Regions from separate parts of the Homo sapiens genome. Here all the other regions are linked to region 7. Evidence: promoter capture Hi-C in 16 types of primary human blood cells and fetal thymus (Javierre and others, 2016). All regions are on one chromosome and are shown on one strand. Each heading gives the region's core, a stretch centred on a gene start or on the middle of the fragment in contact. The rest is flanking DNA. Distances are from core to core; before and after follow the strand shown.

Evidence for each region. The method cuts DNA at HindIII sites, captures the fragments that hold promoters and counts their contacts. A CHiCAGO score of 5 or more calls a contact.
Region 1: a fragment that was not itself captured here is called in contact with the fragment with the promoter of SETD5 in region 7 in 1 of 17 cell types (neutrophils); the score reaches 6.8 in neutrophils.
Region 2: a contact is called between a fragment that was not itself captured here and the fragment with the promoter of SETD5 in region 7, in 1 of 17 cell types (naive CD8 T cells). The highest score is 5.9, in naive CD8 T cells.
Region 3: a contact is called between a fragment that was not itself captured here and the fragment with the promoter of SETD5 in region 7, in 8 of 17 cell types (neutrophils, fetal thymus, naive CD8 T cells and 5 more). The highest score is 8.2, in neutrophils.
Region 4: a fragment that was not itself captured here is called in contact with the fragment with the promoter of SETD5 in region 7 in 5 of 17 cell types (total B cells, neutrophils, naive B cells and 2 more); the score reaches 8.5 in total B cells.
Region 5: a contact is called between the fragment with the promoter of BRK1 here and the fragment with the promoter of SETD5 in region 7, in 5 of 17 cell types (fetal thymus, total B cells, activated CD4 T cells and 2 more). The highest score is 9.1, in fetal thymus.
Region 6: a contact is called between the fragment with the promoter of GHRL here and the fragment with the promoter of SETD5 in region 7, in 2 of 17 cell types (neutrophils and total B cells). The highest score is 6.6, in neutrophils.

The regions. Positions count from the first base shown.
Region 1 is chr3:10,202,839-10,205,538 of GRCh38, reverse strand. All of the region lies in intron 3 of IRAK2 (interleukin 1 receptor associated kinase 2), which reads right to left. Among named protein-coding and RNA genes, the nearest start is that of IRAK2, 39 kb to the right of the region's middle. The HindIII fragment of the contact is 1,354 bases long and covers 741-2,094 here.
Region 2 is chr3:10,159,573-10,162,398 of GRCh38, reverse strand. No RefSeq gene overlaps it. Among named protein-coding and RNA genes, the nearest start is that of IRAK2, 3.9 kb to the left of the region's middle. The HindIII fragment of the contact is 1,059 bases long and covers 923-1,981 here.
Region 3 is chr3:10,260,285-10,262,984 of GRCh38, reverse strand. TATDN2 (TatD DNase domain containing 2) reads right to left here. Exons shown (of 8, transcript NM_014760.4): 3 at 2,315-2,700. Among named protein-coding and RNA genes, the nearest start is that of TATDN2, 13 kb to the right of the region's middle. The HindIII fragment of the contact is 1,770 bases long and covers 537-2,306 here.
Region 4 is chr3:10,031,102-10,033,801 of GRCh38, reverse strand. FANCD2 (FA complementation group D2) reads right to left here. Exons shown (of 44, transcript NM_001018115.3): 3 at 830-970. Among named protein-coding and RNA genes, the nearest start is that of FANCD2, 6.0 kb to the right of the region's middle. The HindIII fragment of the contact is 752 bases long and covers 887-1,638 here.
Region 5 is chr3:10,114,423-10,117,287 of GRCh38, reverse strand. BRK1 (BRICK1 subunit of SCAR/WAVE actin nucleating complex) reads right to left here and starts at 1,613. Exons shown (of 3, transcript NM_018462.5): 1 at 1,469-1,613. The coding sequence starts at 1,586. RefSeq lists enhancers at 1,016-1,065, 1,516-1,805. The HindIII fragment of the contact is 6,229 bases long and covers 44-2,865 here.
Region 6 is chr3:10,291,368-10,294,214 of GRCh38, reverse strand. It overlaps GHRL (ghrelin and obestatin prepropeptide), which reads left to right and starts at 1,268. Exons shown (of 6, transcript NM_016362.5): 1 at 1,268-1,373; 2 at 2,764-2,847. It overlaps GHRLOS (ghrelin opposite strand/antisense RNA), which reads right to left. Exons shown (of 6, transcript NR_073568.1): 6 at 766-2,147. RefSeq lists enhancers at 1,076-1,370, 1,181-1,430, 1,441-1,510. The HindIII fragment of the contact is 7,186 bases long and covers 1-2,847 here.
Region 7 is chr3:9,396,052-9,398,909 of GRCh38, reverse strand. SETD5 (SET domain containing 5) reads right to left here and starts at 1,295. Exons shown (of 23, transcript NM_001080517.3): 1 at 933-1,295. It overlaps THUMPD3-AS1 (THUMPD3 antisense RNA 1), which reads left to right and starts at 2,287. Exons shown (of 4, transcript NR_132781.1): 1 at 2,287-2,350. RefSeq lists an enhancer at 428-477 and a silencer at 1,088-2,397. The HindIII fragment of the contact is 6,018 bases long and covers 1-2,858 here.

The sequences.
Region 1 (2,700 bases), core at 168-2,667, 810 kb before region 7:
GCTTGCCTCACACAAGTCATGAGTTTCCTATCTGACTTAATGCCTGGGGTTTGCTCAGGAGGCTCCCCCAGGCCTCTCAGTTTGGGGGAATCCCTGAGGCCTGCTCCTGCGACACATGAGGGCTATTAGTTGGGTTTATTTATCCCTGTGGTCTTGGGGAAAAGAAATGGACTCTGGTCTGGAAAATCAGACAGGACCCACCAGCCATTACTCTCCATCTCTCCCTACCCAGCCCTCCCCTCCTCTGGGGTCTAATCGGATTGGCTCCTCGTGCCTAGGGTAGTTATCTGTGGTAGGAGAAACTCACAACCATAATCTTTAAAGGCCCCCACTGTATGTCCAAGGGCAGAGAGAGGAGAATGAGAAGGAATTCTCCAGCTATCAAGGATATGAAAATCTCCCTGGATTCCATACAAACTAATCAGAAGTTGGCCATGGGTGGATCATTACTGAAGCCAGCTGATGGGGACATGGAGGGTCATTATGCTCTTGGCTTTTGTATGTTTGTAATTTTTTCATATAAAAATGTTTTAAAATAATGGCTAAGGGAGGGGAGGGAGATGGGGCAGGAGAGTAGATGAACAAGATGGGATACTTGTTGGGTGATAGTGATAGATGGGGCTTGGGGCTTCTACATAATCTTGTTTCCAAGAGTGAGGCACAGCTAATCAGAGGTCAGATCAAGTGCCAGGACTTAGCTAAAAAACAAACCATTTCCTATGGAAATGCTTCCAGAAGCTTTCTTTTTCTTGCTTTTCTTTTTTGCTCTGTTTTGTTTGTTTTTGTTTTTGAAACAGAGTCTTTCTCTGTCACCCAAGCTGGAGTGCAGTGGCGTGATCTCGGCTCACTGCAACCTCCGCCTCCCAGGTTCAAGCAATTCTCCTGCCTCAGCCTCCCAAGTAGCTGGGATTACAGGCGCCTGAGACCATGCCTAGCTAATTTTTATATTTTTAGTAGAGATGAGGTTTCACCATGTTGACCAGGCTGGTCTCGAACTCCTGACCTGAGGTGATCCGACTGCCTTGGCCTTTTTGTTGCTATTCTACTGAGGCTAATATGCCTGCTTTCTCAAGCAAAATGCACCACCTCTGGTCCTGCCGAGCTGTGTCATTGCAGGTACAAGAATTGCAGAAGCAGCGGCACTGTATCTGACATGGGGTCTTCTATGTCCTGCCCTGATGCTGGCAGCGGGTCTACCCCCAGCTGCCCCATCTCCTTTATTAGTATCAAACAGAATTTGGCTCAAGCGCTGGCTCCAGCACTACTCAAGATCTGACCTCAGATGAGCTGTGCCTCACTTATCTGAGCTTTCTCAAATGTAAAAAGAGCAATAATGGTCTGTTTCTTGTCCAGGTAAAAAGAGCTGATGTTTATAGAGCACAAAGGTCAGGCTGTGACACATGCAGTACTTGGTATTTTACCAAGGCTGGTGAAACTATGTGTAGAGTAAGTAAACAGATTCTGACTGATAGCCCAGTGGCCTCTCCTACAGCTAAGGCTTTGTAACAGTTATTTCAGCTGCTCAAAACCCTTTCATCTGAATTCTAGCTTCGAGACTGCTTTGCCGAGGTGCTCATAGCCTATCCATGGCTCCTCTGCTCACATATTTTCCTCCTCAGCCAGGCGCGGTGGCTCATGCCTGTAATCCCAGCACTTTGAGAGGCCGAGGCAGGTGGTCAAGAGATCAAGACCATCCTGGTCAACATGGTGAAACCCCGTCTCTACTAAAAATACAAAAAATTAGCTGGGCGTGGTGGCGCGCACCTGTAGTGCCAGCTACTCGGGAGGCTGAGGCAGGAGGATCACTTGAACCCAGGAGGCAGAGGCTGCAGTGAGCCGAGATCGCGCCACTGCACTCCAGCCTAGTGATAGAGCGAGACTCTGTCTCAAAAAACAAAACAAACAAACATATTTTCCTCCTCCATGTCTCTTCCCACTTCCTTCCCACCTACTGCAAGGGGGAGCCAGGGTATCACAGGGATCAAGATGTGGGCTCAGTATACTTCACTCCTACCAAAATCCTTTAAGATAATTGATGAGTTTGAACTCTGGGGCTCAGTGGAACCTTGGGGTTTTCCCGAAAGAAGACAAGCTTTGGGTGGTTTGATGAAATGAATGATTTCTTATTTTCAATTTAGGCAAAGATAGACAATCAACTTCCTGTCTCTGCCTGCAAATTGTAGTTATCATCTTGACCTGCCTGGGCACATTTGCTCCAAGTGCCATCAAGAAAGCAAATAGGGGCTGGGTGCAGTGGCTCACGCCTGTAATCCCAGCACTTTGGGAGGCCAAGGCAGGTGGATTGCTTGAGCCCAGGAGTTCAAGACCAGCCTGTGCAACACAGCGAAACCCCATCTTTACAAAAAATACAAAAATCAGTCAGACGTGGTGGTGCGTGCCTATAGTCCCAGCTACTCAGGAGGCTGAGGCAGCAGGATCGCTTGAACCCGGGAGGCAAAGGTTGCAATGAGCCGAGATTGTGCCACTGCACTCTAGCCTGGGTGACAGAGATTCCATCCCACTGCCAAAAAAAGAAAGTAAGTAAATAGGGCTCTGTGCAGTGGCTCATGCCTGTAATCCCAACACTTTGGGAGGCCAAGGTGGGAGAATCGCTTGATCCCAGGAGTTCGAGACCAGCCTGGGCAACATAATGAGATCCCATCTTTACAAAAATAAAAAATTAGCCGGCCGTAGTGATGT
Region 2 (2,826 bases), core at 203-2,702, 760 kb before region 7:
AGAAGTCCTAGGGCCAAGTTGCAGTTCTGCCACCAACAGGCTTTGTGACTCTGGACAACTCATTTCATTCGTCAAGCCTTGTTTCCAGCATCTGTAAAGTGGGCCTGCTCCTTCCTACTGCTTAGAGTTGTGAGGGGAGTGGAATAAATCAAATTATGTAGCCTATATAGAACACCTACTACAGGGCTTTCCTCGCACAGAGAATGTGCCCAAAAAATGGTAGCTGTCATTAGTGGTCTTGAAAAGGCACCCACTGGCCTTGGAGTCCTATCAAGTTTGGAGACCTGGTTCAGCCACTCTCCGGCTCTTAGTCCTTTGAGCCAGTTCTGTTTTCCCTTTTGGAAACTGGATCTCCTGCTGCAGCCACTTGGAAGGATTGTTATGAAGCCTAAATGGACTCCAAAACGCTCAAGATCAACTGTGAAGTGCTGAGCCCAGTAAAGGATTACTATTATGTCCTCCTTGATGTTGAAAGTGGGACATATTTCAGTGTTCTGAGACTACTTTTCAAGTGAAGTCCTGTGTTTTCAGCAGTGGCTGAAGGTGGACTTGGGAACTGTAATGATTGTTTGCCATAGGCTGGGTGGAGAAGCATCTCCATCCCAGGCACACGGGGGTAAAAGAGAATAAAGATCCTCTTCTTTTTCTCCTTTTCTCTTTTTGCAGAGTCCCCTACCTGCTTCTCCTTCTCTTCCGCAAGCAGCGTGTGTGTAGAGCTCCTCCCTCAGTGCCACAGGGCCTCTTCCCTGGGGTGAGGCTTTAAGACCACGGAAGTTTCACATTCAGCCTTGGTCAATCCTGGAAGGCAGAGGAGCCCCCACTGCTCTCTCTGCTGCATCCTCAGGCCCTTCCCGCAATTCCTTCTCACCCCAGCCTCAGGGCTTGGGATCTGTGTCCTAGGATTCTGTCTTCCAGAGAAGCTTGAGTCATTTTGGGCCTGAGCAGGTCATCACAGGGACACATCTCAGTTACCACTCTTTAGAATAAGTTCTTCAAAGTAAGGTCTTTGCTATTACTAATGGTTGCCCTTCACCTACCAACTCACCTAGCAGGCATTTAGCATACATTATCTGTAATCCATACAACCCTGCAAAGGTTTATTGTTTCTGTTTTACAGATGAAGAAACTGAGGCTGAAGTCAATTGTAACTGGGCCAAGTTGGCCAAGTGACAGTGAGGTAGGGGGCAGCACTCGACTCGAAAGGAATGGCTGGGACATCGGACCAAATTGAGGACTAGCTAAAACAGGTGTGGTGGGAAGTACCTCGCATAAGACACTGCCACCAGTGTACCTTGTCAGTTTACCATTGCCATGGCGACTCCAAGAAGTCACCGCCCCTTTCTAGAATGTTCTGCATAAACTGCCCCTTAATTTGCATATAATTAAAAGTGTGTATAAATGTGACTGTAGAACTGCCTCTGAGCCACTACTCTGGGCACACTGCCTATGGAGTAGCCCTACCCTGCAAGGAGCAGTACCTCTGCTGCGGCTGCACACTGCTATTTCAATAAAAGGTGCTATTTAACACCACTGGCTGGCCCTGGAATTCCTTTCTGGGTGAAGCTAAGAACCCTCCCAGGCTAAACCCCAATTTGGGGGCTTGCCTGTCCCGCATCAACAGGATGCAACTCAAGTCTGACCCAAAGCAAATGCTCTTTCTGCTGTGTTATACTGCCTCACCACAAGAAATTTCCTCTGATCTTGCAGTTAATTTCTTCCTCTGGCTATTTTCCATGACCAACACCCACCAGGATCAGTTAGAAACAGTTATTGAGGCTGAATGTAATTAATTACACACTTACGTCATTTTGAGCTGTTCAAGTTTAATTCCCTTGAAATTATAGTCAGTGGTTTGCAACCCTGGCTGCACAGTAGAAACATCTGGGGTGCTTTTAAAAAGTATAAATGCCTAGCCCTACCTCCAGGGAGACAGATTCAATTATTCTGGAGTGGGGCTCAGGCACTACTGTTTTTTAAAGCTTCCCAGATAATTCTAATATGTGCTGGCACAGTTGAGAACCAGTCATATCAGAAAGCTGGGGCAGAGGCCAAGCATGGTGGCTCATGCCTGCAATCCCAGCACTTTGGGAGACCGAGGTGGGTGGATCACTTGAGGTCAGGAGTTCGAGACCAGCCCAACCAACACGGCGGAACCCCGTTTCTACTAAAAATACAAAAAAATTCGCTGGGCGTGATGGCACGCACCTGTAATCCCAGCTACTTGGGAGGCTGAGGCAGGAGAATCATTTGAACCCGGGAGGTGGAGACTGCACTGAGCCAAGATCATACCACTGCACTCCAGACTGGGGGACACAGTGAGACTCCATATCAAAAAAAAAAAAAAAAAAAAAAAAAAAGCTGGAGCAGGAGGGAAGACTGATGAAAGGAGAATAATAAAGCTTCTCTATGCACTTTGCATATATTTTTCTTTTTTTTTCTCTCTTTTTGAGACGGAGTTTTGCTCTTGTTGCCCAGGCTGGAGTGCACTGGTGTGATCTTGGCTAACCGCAACCCCTGCCTCCTGGGTTCAAGCAATTCTCCTGCCTCAGCCTCCTGAGTAGCTGGGGTTACAGGCATGTGCCACCACACCCAGCTAATTTTGTATTTTGAGTAGATACGAGGTTTCTCCATGTTGGTCAGGCTGGTCTCAAACTCCTGACCTCAGGTGATCCACCCACCTCGGCCTCCCAAAGTGCTGGGATTACAGGCATGAGCCACCGCGCCCGGCTATATTTTTTTTTAACAAAAATATCTTTATTGGTTTCTCTGATAGCATGTGATATTTGTCAAAGACAGAAAGAAAGAGAAAACAAACACCTTCCCATA
Region 3 (2,700 bases), core at 172-2,671, 860 kb before region 7:
AGATTGCAGTGAGCTGAGATCACGCCACTGGACTCCAACCTGGGTGACAGAGCAAAACTCTGTCTCAAAGCAAAAGAAAATAAAAAATAAAAAATCATATACCAAGGTTCAGGAACCAGCATAGCTTCAGACATCAAGAAAACCAGAAGAGGCCAGGCGAAGTGGCTTACACCTGTAATCTCAGTACTTTGGGAAGCCTAGGCAGGTGGATCACCTCAGGTCAGAAGTTTGAGACCAGCCTGGCCAACATGATGAAACTCTGTCTCTACCAAAAATACAAAATTAGCCAGGTGTGGTGGCGTGTGCCTGTAATCCCAGCTACTCGGGAGGCTGAGACAGGAGAATCACTTGAACCCAGGAAGTGGAGGCTGCAGTGAGCCAAGATCACACCAGTGCACTCCAGCCTGGGCAAGACAGAACGAGACTCCACCTCAAAAAAAAAAAAAAAAAAAAAAAAGCCCAGAAGAAAAGGAGCAATGCCTTCAAAATCCCAAACAAAACAATTTCCAACCTGGAATTCCAAAACCAACCAAGCTTGTAATCAAGGTTAAAGGTAAAATAAAGGCAATCTCAGACACATGTTTACCAAAAAAAGTTTCTCCATGTACCCTTTCTCAAGAAGCTACTAGAAAAAGTATTCCACCAAAATGTGAGAGTAAACCAAGGAAGAAGAACATGAGAAGACACAGAGTATAGGTAGCAGAAGACTCAATCCGGGAGAAATGTGAAGGAGGCTCCAGAGAGACAGCTGCCAGCTGGCCTGACGGCAGGCAGTCCAGACCAGAGCAGGACAACAGAGGGCTGAGGACGTATACCTCCAAGAGAGAAAAAAAAGAAACAGATTCCTTATTTTGACAGTATTGAGAAGGATTTTACAGCTCTCGCAGTTTGGGGATTAATTAGTGAAAGGTACCAGGAAAACCAAAGGAAAAACAAAGTAATGATGAACTTTAAGGAAAATGAAGTTTTACAAGAAAGAAAATGTGATCAGAGTATACAAGGCGACTCAGCTGTGAACATGGCAGTAACAAATCTTACACAGACTTAACCCAAAAGGTATTCAAGCCACACAGGGAGGCTGCAGAAAGGGGAAGCTAATGTGTCCCTGGGTGTGGGTGCTTCTGAAGGAGGTATAGAGAACTAAATTCTCATCGCCCAAGCAAGAAGTCCTCAGACATCTAAAACTGAAAAACTGATCAACAGTAAAGATTATTTAGAAACATGGGGTAAGTACTAGAAGAAAGAGCTAAAGATGAGAGAAGCTGCCTGCAGAGCAGTAGTAAAGGATGGGTGGAGACGAGTAAGATGGAGGAATGTGGCCTGGCACAGTGGCTCATGCCTGTAATCCCGGCACTTTGGGAGGCCAAGGCAGGTGGATCACGAGGTCAGGAGTTCGAGACCAGCCTGGCCAACATGGAGAAATCCCATATCTACTAAAAATACAAAAATTAGCCGGTTTGGTGGCGCACACCTGTAATCCCAGCTACTCAGGAGGCTGAGGCAGGAGAATTGCTTGAACCCAGGAGGTGGAGGTTGCAGTGAGCCAAGATTGCACCATCGCACTCCAGCCTGGGCAACAGAGCAAGACTCTGTCCCAACAACAAAAAAAAAAAAAAAAAGAAAAAGATGGAGGAATGCTTCCCCTCAATTATAAGCTATGTTAAAAATCACTAGTTTCCGTCCAATGACATCCTTCCCTTCTTCTCTGGTTATCCAGGTACAAGTCTGCCTAGATAAAGGCTGATTTTCCAGACTCCCTTGCAGCCAGGTGTCAGCCGGGTTTCCCCGCTCTTGTCAACAGCAGATACAACATGTGCAACTCTTGAGCCAAGCTCTTAACAGGGAAGGAATGCACTCTCCTCTTCTCCCCTTCCCACTGGCCAGAATGCCCAGATAACAAACCCTGAGTCCTATCAGAGTATCCATTTCACACCAAGAGATGGACACTGTGTTGAGGGGTGATAGAGAATCAAGACAAAAGGTACCAGTATCTCTGACATGATGGAGCCATCCTTCTTAAGCCAAACTTATATTCTGTTTAAGCCACTGTGATTTTGGCCTTTTACACAGCAGCTAAACCCATATCCTAACATATAAATCCTTCAAAAAAAAAAAAAAGCACTTAGTTTAGGTTTATTAATAACTCTGAAAATCTGAAAAGTATGTTAGAAGAAAACCATCAGTTTGTTCCCTGGAGGCCTGGTTAAGTAAAGTACTATTTTTAATTAGTAACACTTAGGATCAAACTAGAAAGATGGAACACATTTCATCAACAGAACTAAAAAGTCAGATGCCTGGTACAAGCTTTACTCACCTTTTGGATTTCTAAATGAGAGTCAGAGTCATCCAAGAACTCTAGGGGTGGAGAGCATTTGTCAATGACAGTCCTTCGGTCCCCAAGGGGCTCCTCACTGGGTTTCTCTTGAGGGTCTATAACTACTCTCCTGTCATAGAAGCTGCTCCTCTCTGGCACTGTCTTATCCTCCTCCATGCTGACCTCTGGGGTTGCGTCTTTCTCCTTCTGAGCAGCAGTGACTGTGACACTCCTGGCTGCTCCTTCTGCAGTCTTGGCTGGTCCTTCACTCCTGGCTGGTCCTTCTCCATGGCTGGGATGCTCTGCTGCGCTTGGTTTTGCCCGAGTGGCAGCCTCTCCCTTCCTTTTTGGCATCGATTTCCCCAGGATGCCCTGGATAGCCTTCA
Region 4 (2,700 bases), core at 13-2,512, 630 kb before region 7:
GTGAACCTGGGAGGTGGAGCTTGCAGTGAGCAGAGATCGCGCCACTGCACTCCAGCCTGGGCGACAGAGCAAGACTCCGTCTCAAAAAAAAAAAAAAAAAAAAGACTTAGCTTTGATAGCAGATAGCCACTAAGTGTTCTAAAAAAGACCTGCCATAACCTTAGCAAGATAGAATAATCTGCTCCCCCAAAACAGAATCTTATATGGCTTTATAAATTTTCTTCTGAAATTATTCTGACACTGATACAGCTGCTTTCTGGATATTTATTTTTTCATAAGAAAACACAAAATAAATAATATATAATATTTTTTCTAATAAAAGGATGAGAAATGCTTTACTTAAGACATAGTAATGAGGACCAAAGACTGTACCATTTTCTTTTTCCATTTTTGTTTTTTGGAAATGGAGTCTCACTCTTGTCGCCCAGGCTGGAGTGCAGTGGTGCGATCTTGACTCACTGCAACTTTCACCTCCCGGGTTCAAGCAATTCTCCTGACTCAGGCGCCCAAGCAGCTGGGACTACAGGCACATGCCACCATGCCCGGCTAATTTTTTATATTTTAGTAGAGACGTGTTGCCCAGGCCGGTCGCAAATTCCTGAGCTCAGGCAATCCGCCTGCCTCGAGCCTCCCAAAGTGCTGGGATGATAAACGTGAGCCACCGCGCCCGGCCTGACTGTACCATTTTCTAAAAAGCAATTTCAACTTTGTCTCAAGATGGATGGCCCTCTGATTTCTAATCTTCATTGCCTCTCTATTTAGAAAACCCATGATTCAGTCCTGAACTATTTCATTAAACCCAGAGAATAAAATTAGATTAAAATATTACCTAGTTGATTCTGACTCTCTCCCGTTTTAAGAATAATTCCTGATATCTTAAGAAGCTTTACAAAGATGCTGTCATTTTCTTCAACTTCATTAGCAATATGAGATTTCTTTGTCTTTTTGGAAAGTGGTTGCTTCCTGGTTTCTGAAAATAGAAAAATTTTCAAGAATATGGCAAATAGTAAAGGAAAAATTAAAACTTAAACCCAGGAATAATAATCATGAGAGGAAAACTGATGTGTCCTTAAAAATTATACTAGGATTGATGCTGTAGTGAAATAAACTGTCTTCAGCAATAGTGGCTTCCAAAACAAACAAATAGAATTATTTTCACCTATTTTCATTTGAAGAATTCAAAATGTGCCATTTCTGGCCAGGCAAGGTGGCTCATGTGGTAATCCCAGCAAATTAGGAGGCCAAGGCAGGAGGATCACTTGAAGCCAGGAGTTCAAGACCAGCCTGGGCAACAAAGTGAGACCACCCCCCCATCTCCCCCCCTTCACCCCCATTCCCCCCCTCCACACACAAACTAGTTAGGTGAGGAGACGCACACCTGTAGTCCCAGCTACTTCGGAGGCTAAGGCGGAAGAATAACTTGAGCCCAGGAGGTTGAGGCTATAGTGAGCTATGATATTACCACTGCACTCCAGCCTGGGTGACAGAGTGAAATCCCCATCTCTAAAAAAATAAATTCAAACAAATAAGTGCCTAACAAGAATAACCCACAGAAATGTTTTCCACCCAAATACTAAACTAGCCAGTGTCTCTCAAGCTGTTGCCTGCAAACCACTGTACTGGAATCCCTGGGAAGCTTATTAAAATGCATATTTCCGACCCAGCACAGTGGCTCACGCCTGTAATCCCAGCACTTTGGGAGGCCGAGGCAGGCTGATTACCTGAGGTCAGGAGTTCAAGACCAGCCTGGCTAACGTGGTGAAACCCCATCTCTACTAAAAATACAAAATTAACTGGGTGTGGTGGCGTGCGCCTGTAATACCAACTACTCGGGAGGCTGAGGAGGAGAATCACTTGAACCCGGGAGGCAGAGGTTGCAGTGAGCCCAGATCGCGCCACTTCACTCCTGCCTGAGCAACAGAGTGACACTCTGTCTCAAAGGAAAAAAAAGGCATATTCCATGCCATATACCAGAGTTACTGAGTCAAAATCTTGGGAATGGGACCTAGGAATCCGAATTTTTTATGTTCTTCAGATAATAATCCTGATACACACCAAATTTGAGACTCAATGATCTGAATAAAGGGTAGACAGAATGGGGAAGGTTCTTTGTATCATATCTTTGACTACAATGCTCAGATAGGTTTAATCCCAAGACTTTCAACCCATAAAAAGAAATAAGAAACAAGAAACAAACAGGTACTTGAAGCCAAGTTTAAAATTTACTCTTCTCCCTTAATGATGCCATTTTGTTTTTTCCTTCTTCAATTCCTCTCCCTCTTTCTTTTTTTTTTTTTTTTGAAATGGAGTCTTGCTCTGTCGCCCAGGCTGGAGTGCAGTGGCGCGATCTTGGCTCACTGCAAGCTCCGCCTCCCGGGTTCATGCCATTCTCCTGCCTCAGCCTCCCAGTAGCTGGGACTACAGGTGCACACCACCACGCCCGGCTAATTTTTTGTATTTTTAGTAGAGACGGGGTTTCACCATGTTAGCCAAGATGGTCTCAATCTCCTGACCTCGTGATCTGCCCGCCTTGGCCACCCAAAGTGCTGGGATTACAGGCGTGAGCCACCGTGCCTGGCCTCCTTTCCCTCTTTCTAATAAAGCCTTAATCAGAATGAGACAAAGACCACTACCTTCCTGAATGAAATGTAAAACACAACCAGAATGAAAGTTTCAGTTTGTTCATTACTGACCAAGAGA
Region 5 (2,865 bases), core at 364-2,863, 720 kb before region 7:
TAAAGCAAGAAAAGGGACATTTCTCCTTTGCAAATCCTAAGCTTAGGCTTTTCAATTTTCAGTCAGTCGCCTAGGCTGGAGTGCAGTGGCATGAACATGGCTCACTGCCTTCAGGGCTCAAGTGATCCTCCTGTCTCAGCCTCCCGAGTAGCTGGGACAACAGGTGTGCATGACCATGCCCAACTAATTTTTTTGTTGTCGTTGTTTTGTAGAGATAGGATCTGGTCATGTTGCTCAGGCTGGTCTTGAACTCCTGGGCTCAAGCAATCCTCCCACCTTGGCCTCCCAAAGTGCTGGGATTACAGACATAAGCCATTGAACTCAGCCACGATTATAGTCCTAAACACCCTGTATGAAAATACTTTAATACAAAAATGATGCTCTTCTTTGTCCTGAAGTTGTCATTATTTCATCTTCAAGATTAGAACTTCTTTGAATGTAGGAAGTGGTTCTTATTCTGTGTCTCCCACTATGCCTTAAGAGAGGGCCTCATATGGAGCTCTAGCATCTCTCGCTGATGCTTTCTGACAATCTCTTGCTCTGTCACCTTTGTACTCCTAAGGCCATCAGTCCTTTAGTTAGAGAATCATTCATTTAAAAATCTTTCCAAAGTACACTAGTCCCTATATCCTGTAATTACACAAGAAAGTCTAACCAGTGCCAAGTTCTGTTAAACACTTGGAGAAGAAGGGGTAGGAATCTCGATTGCTTTGCTTGCTGTTCATAAGGAAGAATTTAAGGCTGTCACAAGCAGGCCATGCCTAGGAAAGATTCTGGTAAAGATATCTTTCTGCTGAAGGCACCCGACCTGTGTTAGCTCTGAGGAATGGGCTAGAAGCAGACAGAACACCTACCATAAGCTATATATACTAGCAATACAGAGAGGACTTCCAAGGTCCTACAAGATCCTGGCATCCCTCTGACCTCATCTCCCACCACTCTCACCGCAGCAGACACAGGAAACAGGAAGGAATGGACAAGACGGGAGTGGTTGACAACGGGTCCAACTAAAAGGCACGACGCTAGAGGGTATCGACCAGATCCTGAAGATGGGGAACGGTCAACAGTCTTGAAACAGAGGAGTGACACGGTCCCGGATGCTCACTTTGAGTGCAAAGTGGGGACCGGAATGGATGCAGAGTACAAAGGAGGCAGGGAGACCACTTAGGAGAAGAACCACGGAGCGAGGATGGGGCTGCCTGACGCGTCTAGGAGAAGGACTTGTAGAATGGATCCAGAGGGATGGCAGGAAGCCATGAGCTCAGCGTAGGGCAGGATAACCCTACAGAGACTGTCTACGGGAGCCTGAGGGTCAGGGCGGGAGGGAGAAGGTGGGACCTGAAGGAGGAAGTGAAAACCCGCAACAGCCGAAGGCTGCGGGAGTCCTCTCAAAGCATCTCCCCGGCGCCCCAGCCCAACCACCTCAGCGGCCTCCCTCCTCCCCGCCTCCCCTTGCTGGCCCGCTGACCGAACGAGTTGAGAAAGTCTGCGATTTTCTTGATGCTGCTGGTGATTATCTCAATGTACTCCCGGTTAGCCCAGTCCTGGTGAATCTCCCGCTGCACCGGATCCTCCTGTCCCGCCATGGCCGCCGCCTGAGGAAGAGCGACTGCGCAGGCGCCCCGACCCTACAGGCCTCTAGTGCGCCTGCGCTGCCAGGCCACACCCATCCTCTTGAGCACCCACGAATTCTCGGGCACTATGATAGGCCTGTGCAACGTCACGTCCTCGCCGGCGTTTGCTCTCTACTCCCACGCTATAGAACACAGAAGCCTGGACGCCGGCGGCGAGGTTGTAGTGCACGCGCGTTATGGTCGTTACACGGCGCGTGGGGTCTTGCCGTCTCCCTCAACTGCTCCAGGCTCAGGTTGCGCACTCAGTGTCCGCAGTGAGATGGGCACAGTCGATTAAATCACATTAAATACAAGTCTTTTTTTTTTTTAGACGGAGTCTAAAAAATAATATGGTCATAAATAGCTGGGCACACTGCAAACTGGAACAGTCCCTTTCAGAAGGAAATTTGTGTTTTTGTGTTGTTTTTTGAGACAAGGTTTTTTCTTGTTTTTTGTTTTTTTGAGACGGAGTCTTGCTCTGTCGCCCAGGCTGGAGTGCAGTGGTGTGATCTCGGCTCACTGCAACCTCCGCCTCCCAGGTTCAAGCTATTCTCCTGCCTCAACCTCCCGAGTAGCTGGAATTACAGGCGCACACCACCACGCCCGGCTAATTTTTTTGTATTTTTAGTTGAGATGGTGTTTCACCATGTTGGCCAGACTGGTCTCGAACTCCTGACTTCAGGCAATCCGCCCGCCTCGGCCTCCCAAAGTGCTGGGATTACAGGTGTGAGCCACCTCGCCCAGCCTGAGACAAGGTCTTACTGTCGCCCAGGCTGGAATGCAATGGCATGATCATGGCTCACTGCAGCCTCGAACTCCTGGGCTTGAACTCCTGGGCTCAAGCTATCCTCCAGCCTCAGCCTCTGGTGTAGTTGGGACTACAGGCTCACGTCACCACGCCTGGCTAATTTGTGTATTTTTTGTAGACACGGGGTTTCACCATGTTGGCCAGGCTGGTCTCGAACTGACAGGTGATCTACCCACCTCGGCCTCCCAAAGTGCTGGGATTATACGCATGAGCCACCATGCCCGGCCTATTATGCAGTCATTTAAATGCTAATTATGAACACAAGCAACATGAAAACACATACAATAAATTGAGGGGAAAAACAAAATACCCTCCCTCCCTCCCTTCCTTCCTTCCTTTTCTTACTTTTTTTTTTTAAGACAGAGTTTCTCTGTTAATGCCCAGACTGGAGTGCAATGGCACGATCTTGGCTCACTGTGACCTCTGCCTCCCGGGTTCAAGTGA
Region 6 (2,847 bases), core at 19-2,518, 900 kb before region 7:
GAGGAGGGATGAGAGAGCATGGCTAAGGTCAGGGAGGATTTAAGAGCGATGGCCGCCTATCTAGAATGAGCCGCATGTGGCTGCTGAGCATTTGAAACATGGCTAGTCCAAATTGAAATGCACTGTAAGAACACACACTGGATTTCAAAGACTACACATCTGTAATCCCAGCACTTTGGGAGGCAAAGTCAGGCAGATCACTTAAGCCAGGAGTTCAAGACCAGCCTAGGCAACATGTCAAGACTCTGTCTCTACAAAAAATACAAAAATTAACTGGGTGTGGTGGTGTGACCTGTAGTCCCAGCTACTTGGGAGCCTGAGGTGGGAGGATCATCTTAGTCCAGGGAGGTGGAGGCTGCAGTGAGCCATGATAGTGCCACTGCACTCCAGCCTGGGTGACAGAGCAAGAACCTGTCTCAAAAAAATATATATGTATATTCATTTAGACATATGCTGTTGCACACTTAGACTATAGTATGGTATCAGCATACGTTTTATATTTACTGGGAAACCAACAAAATTCGTGTGACTTGCTTCATTGTGGTCTGGGACCAAAGCTGTAATGCCTCCAAGGTATGCCTGTATATTTCTATTGCAAAATGTGAATCTCGAAATTATAAAAGCTACAACTAGGACAAAAAGCAACCCCACCAAATAGCCCTATATCAAAGAATAAAATCTCTTTCTAGAACCCCAGAATTTGCCTCTTTCAGACTGAAGTTTAGCCAAATCTATGAAAAAAGAGCTTGCTAAACCAACTAATTATCAGTACAAATAAAATTATAATGAAAAGTCTATGAAGATAATTTGTTCTCAGATGCCCTTCACATATAGCAATTAATTCACAAATGATGAGTCACTCATGTGCCTTCATGAAGGCAGGCCCTCAAGAGACCCGCAACAGAAAGGAAAGCCACCGACTGGAGAGAACCTGCTTCCTGAGCCCCACCAAGTTCCAAAAAGGAGAATGGGGCTTCGTCCTCACCCTCAAGGAGTTGCCAAACTGGGCTTGGTTATTATTCACACTTGAAAAGAATGAGGAAGGTCAGCCAGTCCCCTCCAGGTCGCTCGGGCTTCCTCCAAGCTCCTCTTGGTTCAAATTTGCTGTGTCCTCCAGCCGGCATCTCTCCTCTGTTCCGTAACTGACAGGGCAGCGAGGTAGCTTCCGGATGACTCCTCCCGCCATGGTTCTTCCGTCCATCAGCTCTTCCTTCCTCAACTCTGTGGTATGTGGCTAGGGGAGTTTCCAACTCCCAGGGGACATTTCAGTTCCCCAAAGATAACACAGCTTTGCACAGTGGATGTTTACTTGCTGGTGGTCTTATCTAAGATCAACATTGGCAGCTGTGCCCGGAGAGGCCTCCAGGGTCCAGGTAAGTGGAGGCTTCATGTCTCAGGAGGTACCTGGTCACCACAGTTAGGATTTTTCTGTTTGGGGATTTTTTTTTTTATGGGTTGGTGGCTCTGAAAAAGCTGCAAGTCTTCTCTGAGGACTACAGACCTCTCTCCACCCTCTCCACATTCAGCCTCTCTGGGCTCCAGGGCCAAAAGATGTCTACACTCAGGTGGCAGACAGGCCTGTGAAGACCTCCTGGTGACATGCTCATATGTTGCTGGGACTAAAGGTGGGATTTTAGCCACCACAGTGGGTTGGTGGTGAGATGTTTACCAACAGGAGGTACTTTGTCCCTCATGTCCACTTAAAGATTCAGTCCAACCCGGCCTGTGCTTCTGCTGTCCCAAGAGACTCTAGAAAGCTCCAATCCTCCCTGAGGTTGATCTTTTAAGTCAGGGTAGGTGGTCATTCGGCAATCAACTGCTCTACTGCCTCAATGTCCTCCTCACTGGACGTCCTGCCCCAATTCCATCCTGTTCAGCGCAGACTGATTTTCCTGGAACACAATGTTCATTATGGAGCCAGATGGCATATCAGAAAGAGCACTGTATTAGGAGTCAAGAGATCCATGGGGGAATCCCAGCATTGCCCCTGATGGCTGTATAGCTTTGGGGAAAGTGAGGCCCTCTTGGCATTCAGTTTTTCTTCCAGCGAAATAAAGGATTCAGCCTCCCAGAGCTTTAAAGTCTTTCCAACTCTTTCATTCATTCTATGGTCTCTCTCTCCTCAAGAATCCTCAGTGGCTGCCCTCCTGCAAAAAAAGCCCAAACTTCTTGGGCTAGCAGTTCCCAAGGCATCCATCACCTGGCCCCAAACCACCTTCTTATGTTTTTGTTATGACCCCATCGCCACCCTCCCCCAAGCCACCCAGCCTTCTCCATGCTGCCCTGATGTACTCTACCCACGCCTTCACCTCCCCTCTGCTTGCCGCAAAGCCCTCCCTCCAAAGCCCTGCCCCGAGTTCACCACAGGCCTCTTTCCTGGAGCCTTTGCTAACATCCCTGCCGCAAGCCCCAGCCTAAGGTGAGCTCCTCTCCTGAACTGCTAGAACTTCTCTGCAGACAACTCATTGGCCCTTAGGGGTTCCTGCCTGGGCACCCAGTTGGATGAAGCACTCCAGAAAGGAAGAAATTCCTGGGGCCGAGGGAAATGAGGCAGTGGCCTTGGCCTATGCTGGGAAGTCCTATGGGCCTGGTATGAAACCATTGTCATCTGCAGGGTGTTTCACAGGTTAGAAGCCACTTTCCCCCCATCGCCTCATTTCACCCTCAAAGACTCTGGGTAAGGGGAATTATTTGTGGTCGGCGTAAGGCCAGTCAATGAGAGAGGAGCCAGGCCCGTGCTAAGCGTAGATCTTCCACCTCCAGGTCCAATGCACTTCCCTCTCAGAAGAGGCATCCGCTAAAATAGGGACCAAAGCTGCTGGAGGGAGGCAAGGCAAGCTGCTATGT
Region 7 (2,858 bases), core at 46-2,545:
GACTGCAGCATCCATATCCAAGAGAAAGACCACTGACGCCCAAGAAGTGAGACAAGCAAGGACTCTATAGAATCAATTAGCATAGAAGGGGCTTTCCCAACAGTTTAACTTTCCCTCTCATGCGATTTACCTACTTGAACCAGGGCTCTTTCCTACACTCCTCTTCACATTCCCGACTTACACGCAGAGGGAAAGAGAATTCATAAAGGGAATATTTTTCTGCCTTTGAAGATATTCTCACAAGATCGTTCTCCACGCCCAAGGCAAGTAAAACGACACAATCTGGCTCAACTCCAGGCTCGAACCCTACACATTCAACGAGGCTATCTCAGACACGCTGTGGCACACGCCACGGGGAGCCAGAGAACGTGTGGTGGGGGTGGCGAAGGTAATGCCTTTGGGAAGCAGCCATCTGAGGTGGGAAGCCAGAAAACGAGAGGGAAGGCGTCCAGGAAGATTACGGAGGGGAGATCGCGGCCCCCAGAGCGATCAGAGTTGTCTGTCACAAGGCCGCGAGAACGGGGGTAGGGAGTGGGGGATCGGGGAGAGAAAAAAAGTATGCCTGTGTATTTCGAGCGGAGGGCAGCAAGAGGCCTCTCCTCAAGGGAAAGGTAAACGTGGAGTAGGCAGTTCCCAGGAAAGGGGGTGAAGAGGCGTTGGGGGAGGGGAAGCGTCCTGACCCAGGAAAAACATGAAAGGGGGAGTTGGGTCGCCTAGATTAGAGGGGGATCTCTCTCCCTGGGAAAATGGGGTGTTGCAACGGTGTGTGCAAGGCGGCGAGGGGGGTGAGAAGTGGCAGCATCCTCCTAAGAGCTTGGGGAGGGCCAGGCCCACGACCCAAGGAGAGCGAGCGCGGGGAGACGGAGGAGGTGACCCTTCCCTCCCCTGGGGCCCGATCGTGAGGTTCGGTCTCTTTTCTGTCGGACCCTTACCTTGTCCCAGGCGCTGCCGGGGCCTGGGCCCGGGCTGCGGCGCACGGCACTCCCGGGAGGCGGCAGGACTCGAGTTAGGCCCAACGCGGCGCCACGGCGTTTCCTGGCCGGGAATGGCCCGTACCCGTGAGGTGGGGGTGGGGGGCAGAAAGGCGGAGCGAGCCAAAGGCGGGGAGGGGGGGCAGGGCCAGGGAAAGAGGGGGGCCGGCACTACTGTGTTGGCGGACTGGCGGGACTGGGGCTGCGTGAGTCTCTGAGCGCAGGCGGGCGGCGGCCGCCCCTCCCCCGGCAGCGGCGGCGGCGGCGGCGGCGGCGGCGGCGGCGGCAGCTCACTCAGCCCGCTGCCCGAGCGGAAACGCCACTGACCGCACGGGGATTCCCAGCGCCGGCGCCAGGGGCACCCGGGACACGCCCCCTCCCGCCGCGCCATTGGCCTCTCCGCCCACCGCCCCGCACCCATTGGCCCACTCGCCGCCAATCAGCGGAAGCCGCCGGGGCCGCCTAGAGAAGAGGCTGTGCTTCGGCGCTCCGGCTCCTCAGAGAGCCTCGGCTAGGTAGGGGAGCGGAACTCTGGTGGGAGGGGAGGTGCGGTACACTGGGGGGATGGGTGGCTAGGGGGGCCGTCTGGTGGCTTGCGGGGGTTGCCTTTCCCGTGGGAAGTCGGGAACATAATGTTTGTTACGTTGGGAGGGAAAGGGGTGGCTGGATGCAGGCGGGAGGGAGGCCCGCCCTGCGGCAACCGGAGGGGGAGGGAGAAGGGAGCGGAAAATGCTCGAAACCGGACGGAGCCATTGCTCTCGCAGAGGGAGGAGCGCTTCCGGCTAGCCTCTTGTCGCCGATTGGCCGTTTCTCCTCCCGCCGTGTGTGAAAACACAAATGGCGTATTCTGGTTGGAGTAAAGCTCCTGTCAGTTACGCCGTCGGGAGTACGCAGCCGCTTAGCGACTCTCGCGTTGCCCCCTGGGTGGGGCGGGTAGGTAGGTGGGGTGTAGAGATGCTGGGTGTGCGGGCGCGGCCGGCCTCCTGCGGCGGGAGGGGAGGGTCAGTGAAATCGGCTCTGGCGCGGGCGTCCTCCCACCCTCCCCTTCCTTCGGGGGAGTCGGTTTACCCGCCGCCTGCTTGTCTTCGACACCTGATTGGCTGTCGAAGCTGTGGGACCGGGCCCTTGCTACTGGCTCGAGTCTCACATGAGCGAAACCACTGCGCGGGGCGCGGGGGTGGCGGGGAGGCGGGCGTTGGTACGGTCCTCCCCGAGGCCGAGCGCCGCAGTGTCTGGCCCCGCGCCCCTGCGCAACGTGGCAGGAAGCGCGCGCTGGAGGCGGGGGCGGGCTGCCGGCCGAGACTTCTGGATGGCGGCGGCCGCGGCTCCGCCCCGGGTTCCCACCGCCTGAAGGGCGAGACAAGCCCGACCTGCTACAGGCACTCGTGGGGGTGGGGGAGGAGCGGGGGTCGGTCCGGCTGGTTTGTGGGTGGGAGGCGCTTGTTCTCCAAAAACCGGCGCGAGCTGCAATCCTGAGGGAGCTGCGGTGGAGGAGGTGGAGAGAAGGCCGCACCCTTCTGGGCAGGGGGAGGGGAGTGCCGCAATACCTTTATGGGAGTTCTCTGCTGCCTCCCGTCTTGTAAGGACCGCCCTGGGCCTGGAAGAAGCCCTCCCTCCTTTCCTCCTCGCGTGATCTCGTCATCGCCTCCATGTCGAGTCGCTTCTCGATTATGGGCGGGATTCTTTTGCCTAGGCTTAAGGGGCTAACTTGGTCCCTGGGCGTTGCCCTGCAGGGGAGTGAGCAGCTGTAAGATTTGAGGGGCGACTCCGATTAGTTTATCTTCCCACGGACTAGAGTTGGTGTCGAGGTTATTGTAATAAGGGTGGGGTAGGGAAATGGAGCTTAGTCATTCACCTGGGGCTGATTTTATGCAACGAGACTGCGGA